5 separate regions of the Homo sapiens genome follow, and regions 2, 3, 4 and 5 are each linked to region 1. Evidence: promoter capture Hi-C in 16 types of primary human blood cells and fetal thymus (Javierre and others, 2016). All regions are on one chromosome and are shown on one strand. The core of a region is centred on a gene start or on the middle of the fragment in contact, and the rest is flanking DNA. Distances in the headings are between cores, read along the strand shown. Region 1 holds the start of C19orf12 (chromosome 19 open reading frame 12). Region 2 overlaps URI1 (URI1 prefoldin like chaperone). Region 3 overlaps VSTM2B-DT (VSTM2B divergent transcript). Region 4 has its middle 29 kb from the start of URI1. Region 5 has its middle 63 kb from the start of CCNE1.

Region 1 (3,886 bases), core at 1-2,500:
TCTCTTTCCCTCTCCCCTTCCTTCCTGCTTTTTGTTGTTGCTGGTGTTGTTGTTGTTTTTTCCAGAAACGCAGTCTCCCTGTGTTGCCTAGGCTGGTCGGGAACTGGCCTCAAGCAATTCTTCCGCCTCGGCCTCCCGAGTAGCTGGAACTACAGGTGCTATTCCAAGATGGTGAAACCCCGTCTCTACTAAAAAATACAAAAATTGGTCGGGGTGGCTCACGTCTGTAATCCCAGCATTGCAGAAGGCTGAGGCAGGTGGATCGCAAGGTCAGGAGTTTGAGATTAGCCTGGCCGATATGGTGAAACTCCGTCTCTACTAAAAATACAAAAAAATTAGCCAGGCTTGGTGGTGTCGCCTGTAATCCCAGCTACTAGGGAGGCTGAGGCAGGGGAATTGCTTGAACGAGGGAGGTGGAGGTTGCAGTGAGCCGAGATCGCGCCATTGCACTCCAGCCTGGACAACAGAGCAAGACTGTCTAAACAAAAGCTCAACAAACTACCTGCCATCCCCAAAACTAATCTCACCTCCTAAAGCATTAACGACCCTTCCTGACCAAATCTAAACTAGCGCCCAGATTTTCTTCCCATATGGCTCAGCCCAGCTCCGCTGCCCCACAGGTGTCCTGTCAGGATCCGCTTCACATTTATAATACCTAGCACCCCACCCCCAGCCCCGCCCCTGCCCCACCAGCCACCCCCACTCTACCCCACCCCTACCCATCACATTCCGCACCCCACCCCCGCCAAACCCACATCCCCACCCCACCCAACCTCACCCACTCCCACCACATCCACCACCCGCACCCCACCCCCACCCACCACACCCATGCCTACGCCACTCCTGGGTGACAGCGAGCCAGGGCCCGGGACTCTAGTCCCAGCTCTGCTGCTTACTTGTGTGACTTCAGCCTCTCCATGCCTCAGTTTCTCCATAGGGACAATGACTACACTAACAGTGTCCACCCCGGCACCGGGAGGGCCGGGCTCCCGGCAGGGCGGGGACCCTCTCCCCAAGGCACTCCCGGGTCTCCAGGCCTGCTCTTGGGGTGCCCCCTCCTCTCGCGGGGCGCGGCCTGGGAGGCGCCCCGCCCCGGCTCCGGGCGCTCCTTTACCTGGGGGAGCGGAGGTCTACGCGGCGCGCTCGGCGATCAGACGCGGCTGCAGCCCGGGCCTGGCAGGCCCCGGGCTCCCCGCCCAGCTCCCCAGCCCCGCGGAGGGTCGCGCAGGCCTTGGTGGCGGCCCCGGCGCTGGCCCCGCCCTCCGTCCCACCTTCCGGCTGCGCCGGGCCTTCCGGGAAGCCACGCGCCGGGCCAGCTCCTGGCTCCGAGCTGCGCCCGGCCTTAGGGGGAGCCGGGGGTCGCTGCTGGGCACCCCCTCCCCGGTCCTGGCCCACCCCGCCGCTGTCACCGGGGCCCTGGCTTGGGTTGCGGGTGGCGTAAGGAGACGAGGCGCCCGGAGAAGAGTCCTGGGAACCGCAAGGCCGCGCTCCCGCAGGCCCAGCCCTGCCTTTCTCCCACGCGCACGCATGATCACATCCGGGCCCCGCGCACCTGCCTCCAGGACCGCGGGGACCTCCCGGAGACCTCCCTCCCTTTGGCCTGGAGGACCCCTCTCTCCCCGCAGCCTGGGCACAGAAGAGAGCACAGGGGCATCTGGAGGTCAAGGGTGCTGCGTCAGTATTTGGTGAATGTGTGGGCCGGAGCCAGATTTCCTCTGTTCCAGAGCCTGCTCTGGAGCCTCTGGGTCTGGGGGTTGCAAAAGGAGAAGCAGGTTGGGTGGGACTCGTAATCCCAGCTGCCAGTGAGGCTGAGGAGGGAGGATTGCTTGAGCCCAGCAGTTCGAGCGTGGGCAACACAGTGACATCCCATCTCTACAAATAATAATAAAAATTAGGCCGGGTGGGTGAGTCATACCTGTGACCTACAGCATTTTGGGAGGCTGAAGCGGGAGGATTGCTTGAGCCCAGGAGTTCGAGGCTGCAGTGAACTATGATCCCACCACTGCACTTCAACCTGGGTGACAGAGTGAGACCGTCTCTTAAAGAAAGAAAAAAAAGGAAAAGAACTGGCTTTGCTCTTAGGAGTCTTGGATGGGGACCAAAGCTGAGGCAAGGCAGCCTCTTAGGAAGGTGCAAAGGGCATGAGGCTGGGGTTGCAGAACTGCCTGGGAATACTACTTTATTGAGGCCTGTGGAAAGCTGTCCCTACTCTTGTCATGCAAGGTCTGGCCTTGAACCATCTCAAATCCAAAAGTGGCTTCTGGGGGGCTCTATAGAGAATTAATCCTAACAGGAACCCTGCAAAGCAGGCATGGTTGTCACTGCTATATTACAGATGGGAAGCTCTAAACACAGGCTGCTCTGCCCAAGGCCATCCTGGTTAGAAAGTTTCAGGGCCCAAACTCCAGCCTCGGTCTCGGTATCTCAAAGTCTCCGCCTGTGACCAGCACTCTGCCTGCTTTCCAGGGTGCCATGGGCACCCAGAGGACGGACCCTTTTCCATTTTTAAAAGAATGGAACAAACGCTCTTAATACCAAGCTTCCCCAGGCCTTGGCTGGGATAAAACAACCCCATTTATTCCTGAATCGGAGCTTTTGCTTGAGTTTGGGTGACTTTCAAGAGGGAAAGTGAACTGAGGCCAGGGGAACTCAGCTTGCTGCCTTCCTGGGGCCTGAGTGTGGCGCTCCCGTTTCTCTGCGGGCAGCTCCCTCTGGCGGCACATTGCAGAACTGGCCTGCAGACTCCTCCCCCAGAGATAGTGGGGAAGAGGGCCTGTGTAGGGAAAGATGCTGGGAGTGAAAGAAGCTTCAAAGTCCAGGCCCTCCAGAGAAGGCAAGCATGTAAGAGGTTCATGCAGCCCAGCGCGGTGGCTCACACCTGTAATCCCAGCACTTTGGGAGGCCGAGGCGGGCAGATCACCTGAGGCCAGGACTTTGAGACCAGCCTGGGCAACATGGTGAAACCCCATCTCCACTAAACATGGAAAAATGAGCCAGACATGGTTGGTGCAAGCCTGTAGTCCCAGCTACTCGGGAGGTTGAGGCAGGAGAACCGCTTGGACCCGGCAGATGGAGGTTGCAGTGAGCCGAGATCGCGCCATTGCATGCAAATCTGCAACCCATCAGCCTCCTGGGCCTCATTCTGATACGAATGCAGGCATAACATGACCGCACACTCTGAACCCCAGAGATGGAGCACACAGTGCCTCATGCTCCTAAAGGCAACTGCGGCCTCCTGCACAGTGAGCAAGGCGTGCCGTGGGGTCTCGGTGGTGGCGCGGAAATGGCACTGGCCCAGCACACAGCGATGCTTTATGCTGCTTACAGTGACCTAGGGAAAGTTCTTCCACGTCTCCGTGCCTCAGTTTCCTCATCTGGGAAATGGCAACAAGAGTAGTACTTATCCTATAGGGTTGTTCTCAACATAAAAGGAGGTAATATATATGAATCTAGATTATTCTTGTTTACATTACAGAATGTGAAAATGAGCGGCTTCTCCAAAGTCCCATGAGCCTCATGGGCCCAAGGTAGTGGGAAATCCAGTTCTACCCCCACCTTGACAAAACATTCTCTTGCTGATGGGCCCAACAATGCCCTAGGGTGCTAGGTGGTGTTCACACGGCCAGCCAGAGTCAAAACTCAGACGGGGCCAGCGTTCTATGCCCTCACTTTCTCCCAAAGCTGAGTGCACCAGCTCCTAAAACTTCCATGGCTCCTTCAGGCTAAAGCCACCCACCTAGACCAGGGCTGGATGATCCGCAATGTGGGCCACACCCAAAAACCCTATAGCTTCTTTTGTTGTTTCTTTTTTTTTTTTTTTTTTTTTTTTTTTTTTGAGACGGAGTCTCGCTCTGTGGCCCAGGTGGGAGTGCAGTGGCGCAATCTC
Region 2 (4,047 bases), core at 487-2,986, 240 kb after region 1:
AGTCCGAACGGTAGCCAGTTCCTTTCTGTTACCCGACCATTTGTCAACCCGGAGCCTCTTTTTTTTCTTTCCAAGGAGTCTGAGTTCTACGTTGATGTGATTGAAGTCCTTCCGCAGGGTTCCTCTGGGGCCCTTTATGATAACTGTGCGTCCCTTCAGAGTAACGTTGACATTTTCTGGAATGTCAACAGTCTGATTGCTGAGAATGGTCTTCATTCTCACAGTAAACGCAGCAAAAAAAAGTGGCCCAGAGTAGTCTTTTTAAGAATGCAAATTGGATGATGTCATTTTGTCATTTTCCTGCTTATAATTCTTTTGGATTTATCAGCAGGAAAACCGTAAAAGAAATACAATTTATGTTTTGAAATTTTAAAATGGATTCCAAGTTTCTGTTGACATCTGCAACTTTTCTTCTGTTTTCATGAATGTATTAATCATAAAGTCTATTATATTTTATAAATGCAATATGTCAATCAAATGAAGGTCTGCTTTTATTCCTTCCCCTTGGTTTCTTTATAGCCGCTTTTGTTTTTATAGATTGCCTTGTACCTTGTAATTTTGAACTGGATGCCAGATATTGTAACAAAAAATTCTAGGGATTCTGGAGGGGGTTAAGCTTTCTTTTAGCAGCCAGAGTAATCCTTATGGAGTATGTTGTCTGTTTCATAAATTATGTGATTATTTGTGTGTAGCTCTGTTTCTCTATTCTGTTCCATTGGATTATTTGCCTGTAATTGCACCAGTATCACACTCTTACTATTTTAGCTTTATAATAGGTCTTGATATCTAGTAGTAAAATTCCTCTAGCACTTTGTTCTTCAAGATTGTCTTTACTATTCTGACCCTTTGCTTTTTTGTATATATTTTAGGATCACCTTTCCAATACTCAAAAAATAACATTACTGGGGTTTTGCTTGGAGTGCACTGGATCTAAAGATCGGTTTGAGGAGAATTAAGATGTTTACAATATTAAGTTTTAAAATCTATGAACATGGTATATCAATTTATTTACTTCTATAACTTTTTAGTATTAGCTTTTAAAAGTATATAAATCTTCATGTGTTAGATTTATTTCTAGATACTATTTTTTGTTGCCTTTTGTAATTTACTTGCTATTCATTTTTTTTTTTTTTTTTGCTGGTAACATACTTGATTTTTACATATTGACTTTGTTCTAAAATTTTTTGTTGTTGTTAAAAAATAGAGATGAGTTTGCTGTGTTGGCCAGACTAGTCTCCAACTCCAGGCCTCAAGTGATCCACCCGCCTCTGCTTCCCAAAGTGCTGGGACCACAACAAGTGTGAGCCACCATGCCTGGCCTAAATTTATTTGAATTCTAATTACTTGCCTGTACATTCTGATAGTATCTGTGTAGTTACATACAGGCATGTTGTTTGTAAATACTGACAGTTTTATTCATTCCAGTTCTTAAGTTTTTTTTTATGGTTGTTTGTTTTGTTTTGTTTTTTGCCCTATTGTATGGGCTAGAACCTTTAATATAATGTAAAATAAAAGTTAGGACATTGGGCTTTACATACCAGGAGGGCAGTTTTAAGTATTTCACCATACAGATGTTCGTAGTTGGCTTTTTGTAGCTACTCGTTATGAAAATAAGGACATTTTCTCCTGTTGCTAATTTTATCATTAATGGATGCTGAATTTTATCAAATGTATTTTCTATGTTTCTTGAGATAACAATATGGTAAATTACTTTGATTCTTTAAAAATATTCAAATGCCATTGCATTCCTGCAGCAAACCCATTTGTAGAGGATGTGTTTACCTTGTTGTATATTGCTAGATTAAATTTGATAATATTTTATTAAGGTATTTTGTTCTGTTACATGAGGCAAAATTCTGTAATTCTTTCTTTTCTTTTCTTTTTTCTTTTTTTTTGATTAACTCTACCAGGGTGCTGCGGCTCACACCTGTAATCCCAGCACTTTGGGAAGCTGAGGTGGGCGGATCACGTGAGGTCAGGGGTTTGAGATCAGCCTGGCCAACATGGTGAAACCCCATCTCTACAAAAAATACAAAAATAAGCTGGGTGTGGTGGCGGGGGCCTGTAATCCCAGCTACTCGGAAGGTTGAGGCATGAGAATTGCTTGAACCCGGGAGGTGGAGGTTGCAGTGAGTTGAGATCACGCCACTGCACTCCAGCCTGGGCAAGTGAGACTCCGTCTCAAAAAAAAAACAACAAAAAACATTAACACTACCTTAAACCTATGATTTTCTTTTCTTGTAATGTCGACGTAAGGATTTGGCTTCAGAATTAGGCTGGTCTCATGAAACAACTCCCATTTTTGTATATCCTATAAAAGTTTATACACTGTTGTTATTGGTTTTTGTGTGTGTGTTTTGTTTTTGTTTTTTTGAAACAGAATCTCGCTCTCATCCAGGCTGGAGTGCAGTGGCCAATCCTGGCTCATTGCATCCTGGAACTCCCAGGCTCAGGTGATCCTCTCGCCTCAGTCTCCCCGAGTAGCTGGGGCTATAGGAATGCGCCACCATGCCTGGCTAATTTTTCTGTATTTTTTGTAGAGACAGAGTCTCACTATGTTGCCCAGGCTGGTCTTGAACTTCTGGGATCAAGCTATCCATCTGCCTTGGCTTCCCAAAATGATGGACTACAGGCTAGTCAGCCACTGTGCCTGGCTCGTACTGTTTCTAACTTAAATGTTTGGAAGAGTTCATCAACAAAGCCGTCTGGGCCCAATATTTTTCTTGGACATTTTGTATGGAGATTTTAAGATACGACCTCAATTTCTTTGAAAGTTCAAAGACTATCCAGATTTTCTGTTTCTAGTTATATCATTTTAGAAAATGTGATTTTCAAGGAATTGTCCTTTCTAAGTTTTCAAGCTTGTTGTCCCTCCGAGTTATCATAATATCCTGTTATCTTTTTATTATCAGTAGATTTGGTGGTGATGTCCTCTTTTTAATTACTGTAATTTTTAATTTGTGGGTTTTTTCCTCCCTTGATTTCTCTTCTTAAGGGTTTATCAATTTTATATTTTATATTTTTGCCTTTGATTTTTTTCCTCTTTTCTAAGTCTGCTTTCTACTTTACTGATTTCTTCTCTCTTTTTTCCTGTTTAAGATTTTCCTTTGCCTGTAATTTTTCTAGCCCTTAGAGATGATGGTTGAGGTTACTAATATTAACCTTTCCTTATTATAAGATATGCATTTTGAGCTTTAAATTTTTCTCTTAATCATTGCCTTAGGTACTGCACACATTTTGTATGTCATTTTCCTTATCAGTCATTTAAAAATAGTTTCTAATTTCTATTGTGATTTGCTCATTGACCCATAAATTGGAAATACATTCCTTTTCAAACATTATTTTCTACTTATTTTTCTGTTTCTCTAGTGTGGTCAGAGTACACATTCTGCATAATTGAAATTTAAGTCTTGCCTTTTGACCTAATGTTTTCTTTTTCTTGGTAAATTTTTCATAATTTACTTGGAAAAAAATGTTAATCCTGCAGTTTTTGGGTTCAGTATGTGTCTGTTAGTTCAGGCTGCTTGAATATGTTGTTCCAGTATTTTATGTCCTTGTTAATTTTTTTGTCTGCTAATTCTATCATTTATTGAGATATGTATTAAAATAGTCACTAGGATTATAGATTTATTTTTCTCTCTTTTTTTAACCTTTGCTTTATATATTTTACAGCTATGTTATTCATTGTATACAAATTTAAAATTGTAAAAACTTCCTGGTCAGTTGACCTTTTCACCATTCTGAGATATTTTTATCTCTAGTAATGCTACTTGCCTTCAAGTCTCCTTTGTTGGATATTAGTATTAGTATGGTCACACCAGCTAAATTTGTTTGTTTTGTCTATCTTTAAAAAAAATCTTCTTAACTTCAGTCTTTTGGGTTCGAAGTGTGTCTTATAAACAGCATATTGTTGTGGTTTTAATATTCAGTCTAGATATCTTTTCCTTTTATTTAGAGTATTTTAAGCCATTATATGTAGTAGGATTCCTGATATATTTAATTTTATCACCTTTCTATTAGACGTACATTGTATTTATTTTTTATTCA
Region 3 (4,047 bases), core at 947-3,446, 250 kb before region 1:
AGTTATTAAACTTCAAAGTTAAGAGAGAAATTTTTACATATCTAAGCAGAAAGAGAAAAATCACACACAATGGGAAAATCAGGCAAGACACTGACTTCTCTACAGCAACACTCAGAGCCCGACAAAAAGGTATTAATGTCTGTGTTTGGAGGGAAAGAAAAGGCAGCAAAGAATATTACACCCAGCCAAAGTTATTCATGTATAAAGGCAAGAAGCATCCATTCTGAAATGTTAAATACTTCAGGAAATGTAGAACACAGAAGCCTTTTTCAAGAAAATAAAATGAACTATTCACAATTAAATCCAAGCAATTAACAGATTAGAAATACGTAAAAATAAACATAGGAATTGAGACATTGGGGTAGAAGAAGGAGGAATGAGCAGAGAGTTCACTTAAATATAGATAAACATTAAGTAACTCAGGGAATTATGATGACAGAACAAAGTGTGAAATTAATTAAGCTGGACAAGGTAAAAGTAAAAAAGCTAACAACTCTTGGGAGATAGGATGGTAAAATGACGGGGAGGTGAGTAAATCAACATCTCATCTTTCAAAGAAAGGAGCCAATAGACTAAATTTGAAACTTTTGAGAAAACTCGAAACTTGAAATGAATTTTTTTTTAAAAAAATGACTATAAACTCCTGATGTGTTTCACAATCTCTCTTTTTTGTTTTTAAGGGATTTTCTGGGAAATAAATTTTACATAAAAAAATATGTATTTGAAGTTCACAGTTCCCTCAGTTTCACTTCACTTACATTTTCTTCTATTAAGTAAAATTAAATACTTTATATTTTGAAATAACATCTAGAGATGGTCATTTTTTATAAAGATAAGTATTTGTCCAGGTATCCATGTTACTTTCTATCAGCATACATAGGTGTCTGGAATTATGTTTGCCTAAGTTAGTGAGATTTAGGGTTTTTTAAAAGATTTTCTTCACTGTACATTTTTGCCTCATTTAACGTCTTTATGATATGCATGATTCATTTTTATAAAAGCAATAGAATGATTTCCTTAAGGCAATTATGCCAAGATATTAATTATAGTGATTAATTTCTGGTAGTAAGAATACTGATGGGTTTTTTTTGTTTGGTTTGGTTTTTCATAATGCAACTTAAACTTCAAAAAATATAGTTAGGAAAAATAAGGATGGATAATCATGAAAAAATAGAAGTAAAATCTGTAATTTCTAAATCAGGAGAGGAAAGTGATGAAAGCTTTAGTAATTAAATGTAAATGAGGAAAAGAGTTGAAGAGAAGAAAATAAAATGGTAAAGAAAACATATATCAGACCCTGTTGAAAACAAACAAAAAAAGAAAACATAAAATAAGCAGTAAAAATAAGTTCAAATAGATCATGTCAGCACTTGTAATAAATATAAACAGGTTTAAGTTATAAATTAAAGGACAGAGTCTAACAAATTGGATTTTTCTTAATCTAGTGATATTTTGCTTATAAGAGACACACGAAAATAAATGACCCAGGAAGGTCAAAAATAGAGGAATGGAAAGAATATCGCTGGCACAACAACAACAAAGCAGAATAGCAATATTAGTAGCAGATAAAATCTAACTTAAGGCAAAAAGCATTTATGGAGATAAAGAACTCCATGTAATTATAAAAGGAAAGGACTCACCAAGGAGATATAACAGTCATGAATTTTATGTACCTCACAGCAACATAGCCTCAAAAATGTGTAAAGCAAAACTGACAGAATTTTAAGAAGAAACTGATAAATCTATAATCAGAGTGGGAGATTCTGGCTCACTGTATTGGAAATTGCTCCAGCAGACAAAAATTACTTATAACATAGAAAACTTGTACAACATCGTAGCAAGCTTGGTCTAATAGATATACAAAGAATCCGTCAACAAATACAAAGTGTGCATTATTTTCAAGAAGATAAGGAATACTTACAAATAACAAATCTTGCAACAAAAGTCTCAACAAATTTCAGAAAATCAAATATCAACAAATATTATTCTCAGACCCCAATGCAATTAACTCAGAAATTGACAATTAAAAGACAAAAATATAGAATATTTTAAAATTACACTCCTAAATTACTTGTGTGTTAAAAGTGCAAATTACCGAAACATTAAAATATCAGGGGCTAAAGGAAAACAGGGTTCTACAAAACATAAGTTGTGGAATAAATTCAATACTGTTCTTGATAAATTCATTTACATAAAAAGAGTGAAAATAAATGTTATACAACTCAAGAAGAAGATTAAACTCAAAAAAGGAAAAGGAAGAAAATGATCGTAGTTAAGGACTAGAATGTAAGTAGTTTATTAAGGAAGTACTCCCAGAAGAAACAAGTAAGGAAGTGGGAAAACACAGTAAATACAGAGAAGATTTGTTCTGTCTTACGGCAAAAGAGTTGAGATATACTGTATCTAGCCAGTTACTGGCTACAGGATGTCTGAGGTGGGAAGCATGTAAGCCTCAGGCACCTTTAGCTCTCCATACCAGCAGGTGGCTCCAGTGCCCAACAGCAGTCCTTTGAAGATTGCAAGTGCAAATTTTTAAGAGCAAAATACACGGAAGCTTTGGGAGATGAGCTTACTGAGCTGGTAAATAGAATGCACAGGCATTTAGTAAGGGCATCCAGGGAGGCTACTACAGAATTTTACAGAGGAGGAAAACAAGTACCACCACCAAAGGAAATGTTCAATACAACCAGAAATCACTCATTTTAAAAGAACGAAGTAGATAGATCTCTAGAAAAACAGATGAAGAACAGCAAAACTGCATTTTTCAAAAGGCAATATGTAAGCAGCCAACATTGACTACGCCTAGTACGACATATCTCTCCCACCCATTACAACTAAAAATTCTAGACAAAATACAAAAAGCAACTACCTGGGGGTTTTGAAAAGTTAACAATTCCAGAGCAACCACTAAGAAAAGTGCCAGTAGATTAATTTAAAAGAAATTTAAGAAAAAAAAAGAAGGCAGAAAAGAAAAGAAAAACAAAAGTAGAGAGGACAACAAACAACAATAAAACGTAGACCTAAATCCAAACATATCAATTATTGTGTTAAACGTAAATGACTTAAACATCAAGTAAAAGACAGAGATTATCTATTTGGATTTTCTAAAGACCCACATATCTGCTATACAAATACTTAAGGAAGAAACAGTAACAACTCTATTCAATTTATTTCAGAATATAGAAAAGGAATGAATACTTCCCAACTCATTTTGTAAGAGATGTATTACCTTGATTTCAAAATCCAACGAAGACATTACAAGGATTTTTAGAAGTTAAAAACTACAGATCAATATTTCTCATGAGTGTAGATGCAAAATTATCACCAAAATATTAACAAATTCTAATAATATTATAAAGATAATACACCACGATCACATGAGGTTTACTCTGAGGATGCAAGGTTAGTTTAACCTTGCAATCAATGTATCGTATTAGCAGACTAAAGAAGAAAAACCATGTGATTATCTTAATAGATGCAGAAAAAGCACTTAACAAAAGTTTACCACCATGACTTTTTTTAATACTCAGCAACCTAGGAATTTAAGAGAACTTTCTAAACCTGATTAGGGCCATCCACAAAAGAAACCTACAGCTAACATCAAATTTAATAGTGAAAGATGGAATGCTTCTCCCCTAAAATGAGAAACAAGGCAAAGATATCTACCTTCATCTCTCTTATGCAGCATCATACTGGAAGTCCCAGCTAGTTTGACAAGGCAAGAAAGGGAAATAAAAAGCATACAGATTGCAAAAGAAGAAATAAATATCCCTTTATTTTCAGATAACATGATGTTAAATTAAATACATTAAATACAAGATCAATAAACAACAAATCAATTGTATTTCTATATACTAGCAATGAAAAACATTTAAAATATGTTTTACCATTTACTGAAACAGGAAACACATAGATATAAATCTAACAAAATATATGCAAGACCTGTAGGCTGAAAACTATGAAACACTCATAAAAGAAAACATTCTTTTCTTTTCTAAATAAATGGAGTGACAAATGTATGTCCAGAGGTTGGAAATTCAGTATTGC
Region 4 (4,047 bases), core at 483-2,982, 200 kb after region 1:
CTTTTCTTTCTTTTCTTTTTCTCTTTCTCTTTCTTTCTTTCTTTCTTTCTTTCTTTCTTTCTTTCTTTCTTTCTTTCTCTCTTTCTTTTTCTTTCTTTCTTTCTCTTTTCTGTCTCTCTCTCTCTCTCTCCCCCACCTTTTTTTTTCAGACAGGGTCTTGCTAAGTTGCCCAGGCTGGTCTCAAACTCCTGGCCTCAAGTGATCCTCCTGCCTTGGCCTCCCAAAGGAGGAATTATTATCACTATTTTGCCTTAGATGTGATAATGGTTGTATTTTTACATACTTATGTTTTGGAGATACCTGCTGAATATTGATGGGTGGAATGATAGAATTTAGGGGATTTGCTTCAAAATAGCTAGGGGAGGCAGTAGGGGGAGGTACAGAAGAAATGAAATTGGCCATGAAGTGACCATTGCTGAGTCCAGATGATGGATACATGGGGGCTCACTATGCTGTTCTACCCTTTTACTTGCTTGAAATTTTTTATAAGAAATAAAGCTTCCCAGGTGGTTCTGATGATCAGCCAGAGCTGGGAACCCCTGGCTTGGCTGATCCGCAGAGGCTGATTCCTAGCTATTATTCTCTGACCTTCCATGTCGCAGAAATTATGATGGTAATCAGAACTGGATCATGTTTCCTCTCTAGTTTGGAGGAGGTCATGAGATACCTTAACAAGAAAAGGGTCTGGGGGACCGGCATGGTGTCTCACACCTGTAATTCCATAGGCCAATGTGGGTGGATCATGAAGTCAGGAGTTTGCGACCAGCCTGACCAACATGGTGAAACCCTGTCTCTACTAAAAATACAAAAATTAGCTGGGCATGGTGGCACTCACCTGTAATCCCAGCTACTCAGGAGGCTGAGGCAGGAGAATCCCTTGAACCCGAGAGGCAGAGGTTGCAGTGAGCTGAGATCGCGCCACTGCACTCCAGCCTGGCAACAGAGCAAGACTCTGTCTCAAAAAAAAACATAAAAAAAAGAAAAAAAAGGGTCTGAAGGGTCTGGGGAAAGGTCCCCTGACAAATCAGTTCATCCAGGACATGAACTGACCTGCAATCCGCTCGGAATAGGATGTCGGATCAAAATTGTCTTGTTCCTTAGAGAAATAGCCTCCTTTCCCATAAAAAGACAGGAGGAGATCTATCTTTATTTATTTATTTGTTTTTAAAAACAGAGTCTCACTCTTTGTCCGGGCTGGAGTGCAGTGACAAGATCATAGCTCACCGTAACCTCCAAGTACTGGGCTTAAGTGATCCTCCTGCCTCAGCCTTCCAAGTATTCTTGACTACAGGCATGCATCACCACTCCAGGCTAATTTTTAATTTTTTTTGTAGAGAGATGGGGTCTTGCAACTTTGCCCAGGCTGATCTTGAACTCCTGGCCTGAAGTGATCCTCCCACCTCAGCCTCCCAAAGCACTGGGATTACAGGTGTGAACCTTCACGCCCAGCTTTCTATCTTTATTTTGAAAAGTAAAATAAATACAAATTATTAGTTCATTGATTTATTGAACTAATTATTTATTGGATTGCTACTGTATGCCAGGCACTCTGCCAAGCTCTATCGAAGTTCTCAAAGTTTAATTTGGGGCCTGGCATGGTGGCTTACACCTGTAATCCCAGCACTTTGGGAGGCAGAAGTGGGTGGATCACTTGCAGTCAGGAGTTCGAGACCAGCCTGGCCAACAAGGTGAAACCTGATCTCTACTAAAAATACAAAAATTAGCTAGGCGTGGTGGCACATGCCTGTAGCCCCAGCTACTTGGGACACTGAGGCACGAGAATCACTTGAACGTGGGAGGTGGAGGTTGCAGTGAGCCGAGATCGCACTTCAGCCTGGGTGACAGAGTGAGACTCTGTCTCAAAAAAAGAAAAAAAAAAGTTGAATCTGTAGACCTCTGGGATCCCAGAGATTCTTTCAAGGGGTCTACAAGGTAAAAACCATTTTACAATTTATATTTATTTACGATAATACTAAGATGTCATTTACCTTTTATTTTGGTATTTGCACAGATGGTATAAAACCAACAGCGAGTAATACTGCTTGTACTTGACGTTAATTTGTCAGTGGCACTGACTGTACTAGAACTCATTGTATTCTTCACCACTCACAGTTTATTTATTTATTTTTACTTTTTATTGATTTTTATGTTTTGAGATAGAATCTCCCTCTGTCACCCAGGCTGGAGTGCAGCAGCACAATCATGGCTCACCACAGCCCCAATTGCTCAGGCTCAAGCAATCCTCCCACCTCAGCCTCCCGAGTAGCTGGGAATACAAGTGTGCGCCACCACAACCGGCTAACTTATTTTATTTTATTTATTTATTTATGACAGAGTCTTGCTCTGTGGCCCAGGCTGGAGTACAGTGGTGCAATCTCGGCTCACTGCAACCCCCACCTCCCGGGTTCAAGCGATTCTCCTGCCTCAGCTTCCCTAGTAGCTGGGACTACAGGCATGGGCCACCATGCCTGGCTAATATTTGTATTTTTATTAGAGACAGGGTTTCGACATGTTACCCAGGCTGGTCTCGAACTCCCGACCTCAGGTGATCTGCTCACCTCAGCCTCCCTAAGTGCTGGGATTACAAGTGTGAGTCTACTCACAGTTTAAAACAATCCACTTTCACTTAAGAATGTTCCTAATGAAGCAGTAAGAATTAGTGTTATTAAATTTGAATTCTCGAGTCCACTTCTGAAGATTGTGACGGAGTGAACACAGAACAGGATTCCGCCACACACTGGGTACAATGGCTTTTCAAGGTGAGACACTGGTGCAGTTGCTTGAGTTGCGAGCTGAACTAGCTGCTTTTTATCATGGCACACTGTTTTACTTGGAAGAAAGTTCTGACACATCAAAGTACAGATATTCAGACTCTGGTATTTGGCAGACATTTTCTCAAAAATGAACAAAATGAGCCTGTCACTTCAAGGGAAACAACTGGCAGTATGTTTTGCCAATGATAAAATTCAAGCTTTCAAGTTGAGCATTAGGATTTTGGGAAAACTTGTTATCTGCCACCAAGAGCTTGACAGCTTCTCAATTTCTTTCTTTCTTTCGTTCTTTCTTTTTTGAGATGGAGTTTCACTCTTGTCGCCCAAGCTGGAGTGCAATAGCAAGGTCTCGGCTCACTGCAACCTCTGCTTCCCGGGTTCAAGCGATTCTTTTGGCTCAGACACCCAGGTGGCTGGGATTATAGGCGCCTGCCACCATGCCCAGCTAATTTTTGTATTTTTAGTAGAGATGGGGTTTCACCATGTTGGCCAGGCTGGTCTCAAACTCCTGACCTCAAGTGACCCACCTGCCTCGGCCTCTCAAAGTGCAGTGCTGGGATTACAGGCATGAGCCACTGTGCTTGGACAGCTTCTCAATATTTAGATACCTTTTAGATGAGATCACTAGTGATATTTTTAAAATGTGATTTTTGATATTGTATAATAAAACTGACATTTGGAAGTTTTGCATAGCTTAGCGAACCAACATTTTCCAAATGACCAATGCGTGATGTTACAAAATCATTCAAAGTGCAAGATGGATATTACCAAGTAATCCTTCTCCCACCTAGGACACAGTAAGGGAGAAACAGCAGTTGTCCCACCCTAGCAAAAGCAGGAAAATTGCAAAAGCAAAGAGCCAGGAAACCTCAAAAGCAAACTTTTTCTTGAACCTACTGGAAAGCTGAAGGGGCAGGGCAACTGTGTAGCCTGAAATCTAAGGAAAGACAGTTGCCTCCCCAGTGATAGATGGGACATGAGCACCAGCTTACCTGTGTGCAGTACAAGAGGAAGAGGTTCCTGGTGCCATGCACGAGAGAAAACATTATTTAGCTAACATTTTTAGCAAATTTGCTGGAGCCTGAGTGCAAACTAGAGTAGGCATATAAAGTCCTGGGCACTGCAGACTCAAGGAGAGTTTTCATAGACCTCCAGTTTATGAGAAAGACCAGGAGCAGAGCAGGACACCAGAGACCACCTCCCTCGTTGGTACAGGGCTAGAGGATAGTGACAACTGAAGACAACGAGGCTCATTTGGAAAGGAGAGCTTTATTTC
Region 5 (4,047 bases), core at 1,041-3,540, 160 kb after region 1:
GGGCTGGTCCGAGGGGTCTCCGCGGCCTCCCCAGCCACAGTCCCCGCCCGCTCCGCGCCCTCCCCGCGGGGTCGATGGCTGGGGGACCCGGCTCCGGCCCAAGCCAATCAGTCCTTCCTGAGCAGCGTGAGGTGGCTGCCCGAGGGCGGGCGGGGTGCTGCTCTGGCGGGCTCCTGGAGGCCTGGGTGGCGCAGCCCGGGGGAGCGGAGGGAGGAGGCGGCCCTGAGACCGAGCCGCGCGGCGGGTGGGCTCCCCTGACCCCGCTCCGACCCGGCCCCGCGCCCTCCCGGCCGCTCGATCGCAAAGCGTCTGCTGCCATCTGGTGGCGGCGCCCGGGCATCTGCGGAGCGGGGAAGCCTGGCCAGGCTGGTGCTCAGACCCCCACCCAGCGCCCCCGCGCCCCCGCGCCCGCGCCGCTCTCCCGGGAAGTCCCCAACAGCCTCTGGCTTTGCTCGGCTTCTCCCAGCAGAAACCGAGCCCCACGTCTCCTGGGAGCCAGCGCGCGGTGGCCGGTGCCGTGCCCAGGGGGTGACGTGCGTCCCTCTCTAACTCGGTTTTCTCATCTCTAAAATGGGGTTCATGGAAGTGCGTGCCTTGTGGAGGCTTCGCAAGGCTCCCAGGTTCCCTTAGCTCAGAAATCAGGCCTTACCCCTGAGGCGCGAGGCTGCGGGCACGAGGCTGCGATTTGGCGGCAGCCGTATTTGCACACTGTCACAGAATTAACCTCAGAGCTGGCTGGCTGCGGGTCCTGGAGGGGGTGCAGAAAAGGGGAGGGCGGGCCAGGCTCCCACCAGGAGCACCTGCAGATCGCCCTGATCGTCAAGAGCAAGGCATGACCCCTGCAGAACGGGCTGTAGGCTCGGGGCGAGGGGGGAGGGGGAGGGGACTGTCACCGGGGGGGGGGCCAGAATCCTCTGAGCCTGGGGACAGGGGACTGAGCGAGGCAGGTAGAGCCCCAGGCCCAGGCAAGAGCTCGAAGAGTATTAGCTTTTGCTGTTGTAAACCCCATGGGGTGGTCTGCAAACTGCTTCCCATACTCGCTCCGTCATGCCCTGGCTCGGCTCTGACATCACTGGTGTTGGCCATATCGCGGATTTTCTGTTTCCCCCTCTGTAAACTGGGGATGCCAATGCCAGCCCCCACTCCCGGATGAGGTACCTGGTGTACAGATGGCTCGGCCACTCTGCTGACCGTGCCCCCGACATCATTGTTCCCCGGGGTTTTCCCTCTAAGCTCCAAGAGGTTAGTTAATTCTCTGCCAGTGTGCAGAGACTCCCACAGCTGCCCCCAAACCTTGAGGTCTCCCCCCATATCCTCCTGCCTTATAGGCAAGGCCTGTTTCCTGAGCCAAGGGAAGGCGGGTGTCTTTCCTGGGAACCCCCTCCGCACGATCACAGACTAGAGAGTCCAAACCACAGATCATGTTTTCTTTCCAAAAATAGGAGCCCCACTGAGGCAGAAACTTCATTCTTTTAATAAGATGATGGTATGTTTAAGGAAAATAAATATTTCTTTTAAAAAAGAAAAGGCGATTTGGATCCACTCACATGCCAAGCACTGTCCCGGAGACCCAGGCTTGGTGCATGGCTGCGGAGGATTCCAGCAGGCATGCAACTTTAATTACTTCTCAGTGTACCACAGAGGTGGCCTGCAGCACCGGGTGTGACAGCAAGGTATGCCACCAGTAAGGGGGATGTCTCAGCAGCTGCCAGCACTCTGCCTGTGAAAACGCCAGCTCCAATTCAAAGGTATCAAATATTTGCCTAGCTGTTCAACATTTCTTCAAATAATATACTCACGACTAATTCATATCTGGACTCGACGTCTTCATCTCTCCAGGCCTCCCTCCTGGATTAGCGTGTCTTGTCTATTCCGGGAGAAAGTTGTCCTACATTCTAAAAATAGAGCTGGGAGTCTGGACATGGGCATGCACAGTCAGGGGAGGCTTTATTTATTTATCTTAAGGGTTGTCCTCTGAAGACAGCTGCAGCTGAGCCTGGGACTCACTCATCAAATAGCCATTCGCGGCTGGGCGCAGTGGCTCATGCCTAAAATCCCAACACTTTGGGAGACCGAGGTGGGTGGATTACCTGAGGTCAGGAGTTCCAGACCAGCCTGGGCAACATGGTGAAACCCCATCTCTACTAAAAATACAATAATTAGCCGGGCGTGGTGGTGGGCGCCTGTAATCCCAGATACTCAGGAGACTGAGGCAGGGGAATTGCTTGAACCCAGGGGGCAGAGGTTGCAGTGAGCCGAGATTGCACCACTAAACTCCAGCCTGGGTGAAACAGTGAGACTATCTCAAAAACAACAACAACAAAACAAAAACAAACAAATAAAAAAACAACAACAGAAAACAAACAGCCATTCATAGGTACTCAGCAGAGGGCAGGGCCTTCTAAGAAGTCTGTGCTGGCTGCTGCCTTCCAAAAGAGGCCGTGCTCCACTCCAGGGGATGCTCCGTGACCTCTGAAGTGAGGACACCCTCTCAAATCAGAGGCACGGGCCTCTCTCCTCCATAGAGGGGTTCTTCCGTTCCTGGGGATTAAAAGCCCCAAATGCCCCTGTATCATCCAGGACCCATTGGGTGGATTGCTCAATCTGGCCATCCAGGCGGAGTTTTATAAATAACTGTTTGCATGGGGGACCTCAGGAGGAGGAGTGGTACCCTGGGTCTAGTAGCAGTGGGCTGTTCCCATCCCTGGGGCCGCAGGGCTACGTGAGGAGGCGTTCTCTGACGCAGGGCAAGGTGGCTGTGTAGGCAGCACTCCCTGATAGCAGTGGTGACCGAAGAAGGAGGAGGAGCTCAGGGAACCCCCACTCTAGGTGCTCTCCTCTGCCCCCCAGTTTCCTGCTAGGGCCTCCCAGGTCCACCTGCCCAGAAGGCAGAGCGAGGCATCCACAGATAGAGTCTGTGGAGGGGTACACAGAGCCAGTGGAGGAGGGTGAAGGGGGTGTGCAGGGCAGAGGGGAGACTACCAGCTCCTCTCTCTTTTTTGAACCCGCTCCACCTCTCCAGCCTCCTTCTGTGTCTCCTGTGCTAAGTACCATTTCTCTTTCTTTCTCATGTTTCATCACCTCCGTCTCTCATTGACTCTCCTCTCTGTTTTCCTCTTGATATATCCTCCCCACTTCTCTGCTGCAGAAGAGGCGAGGTGAGTACCATTCACCTCTCCCAAGTGGTCCAGTGGCAGTGGGGCCCCCACGCACTCTACACCGTTGTTGTGTTGCTAGAGGAAGGAGAGCAGCTGAGCCCTGGGGACCTGGGGACGGGCTTCATTTGATTCTCTGCTCTTCCTCCTCTGAACTACTCTAAGTGAAGCCAATCAGGATTACTTTCATTTCATCACTTCAAGGACTTCCTCCTCGGAGTCTTTTCATCCTTCTCCTGCCTTGGCCTAGAATTAGGGAGGGGGAGTTAGTCCCCTCCTCTCTTCAGCCCCTCTGGCCAGCATCAAGCCCTTATTGAGAGCTCCAACTGTGCACCCAGCGTCAGAAATGATTTGGGGTGCCTGTGTCCGGAGCATACAGTCCTGACATGGGTGGGGACCCATGATCCATTCATTCAGTCATCGGACAGAATGCATCCAGGGCCACCCTGCTTGGGCTCCGGGCTAGACTTTTTTTTTTTTTTTTTTTTTGAGATGGAGTCTTGCTCTGTCACCCAGGCTGGAGTACAGTGGTGTGATTTCACTGCAACCTCTACCTCCCAGATTCAAGCAACCGATCCTACTACCTCAGGCTCTGGAGTAGTAGGGACTACAGGCATGGGCCACGAGCACCATCCCTGGCTAATTTTTTTTTTTTTTTTTTTTTAGTAGAGATGTGGTTTCACCACATTGGCCAGGGTAGTCTCAAACTCCTGACCTCAAGTGATGCAGCCACCTTGGTCTCCCAAAGTGCTGGGATTACAGGTGTGAGCCACTGGGCCCAGCTTTTTTTTTTTTTTTTTGAGACAGCCTTGCTCTGTCACCCAGGTTGGAGTACAGTGGCACTATCATGGCTCACTGCAGCCTCTAACTTCTGGACTCAAAAGATCCTCCT

The links. Contacts are between HindIII fragments. The CHiCAGO score rates a contact against its expected background, and 5 or more counts as called.
Region 2: a fragment that was not itself captured here is called in contact with the fragment with the promoter of C19orf12 in region 1 in 7 of 17 cell types (naive CD8 T cells, total CD4 T cells, activated CD4 T cells and 4 more); the score reaches 10.0 in naive CD8 T cells.
Region 3: a fragment that was not itself captured here is called in contact with the fragment with the promoter of C19orf12 in region 1 in 1 of 17 cell types (non-activated CD4 T cells); the score reaches 5.9 in non-activated CD4 T cells.
Region 4: a fragment that was not itself captured here is called in contact with the fragment with the promoter of C19orf12 in region 1 in 2 of 17 cell types (non-activated CD4 T cells and activated CD4 T cells); the score reaches 6.1 in non-activated CD4 T cells.
Region 5: a contact is called between a fragment that was not itself captured here and the fragment with the promoter of C19orf12 in region 1, in 5 of 17 cell types (naive CD8 T cells, naive CD4 T cells, non-activated CD4 T cells and 2 more). The highest score is 7.8, in naive CD8 T cells.

What each region holds. Positions count from the first base shown.
Region 1 is chr19:29,714,011-29,717,896 of GRCh38, forward strand. C19orf12 (chromosome 19 open reading frame 12) reads right to left here and starts at 1,251. Exons shown (of 3, transcript NM_031448.6): 1 at 1,115-1,251. RefSeq lists a silencer at 786-1,575 and enhancers at 1,746-1,845, 2,391-2,610. The HindIII fragment of the contact is 2,629 bases long and covers 1-2,537 here.
Region 2 is chr19:29,956,773-29,960,819 of GRCh38, forward strand. All of the region lies in intron 1 of URI1 (URI1 prefoldin like chaperone), which reads left to right. It also overlaps the pseudogene RPL9P32. Among named protein-coding and RNA genes, the nearest start is that of URI1, 17 kb to the left of the region's middle. The HindIII fragment of the contact is 2,245 bases long and covers 615-2,859 here.
Region 3 is chr19:29,465,529-29,469,575 of GRCh38, forward strand. The region is part of intron 1 of VSTM2B-DT (VSTM2B divergent transcript); the gene reads right to left. Among named protein-coding and RNA genes, the nearest start is that of VSTM2B-DT, 58 kb to the right of the region's middle. The HindIII fragment of the contact is 712 bases long and covers 1,841-2,552 here.
Region 4 is chr19:29,910,973-29,915,019 of GRCh38, forward strand. No RefSeq gene overlaps it. Among named protein-coding and RNA genes, the nearest start is that of URI1, 29 kb to the right of the region's middle. The HindIII fragment of the contact is 2,473 bases long and covers 497-2,969 here.
Region 5 is chr19:29,873,359-29,877,405 of GRCh38, forward strand. No RefSeq gene overlaps it. Among named protein-coding and RNA genes, the nearest start is that of CCNE1, 63 kb to the left of the region's middle. RefSeq lists a silencer at 1-391. The HindIII fragment of the contact is 7,711 bases long and covers 1-4,047 here.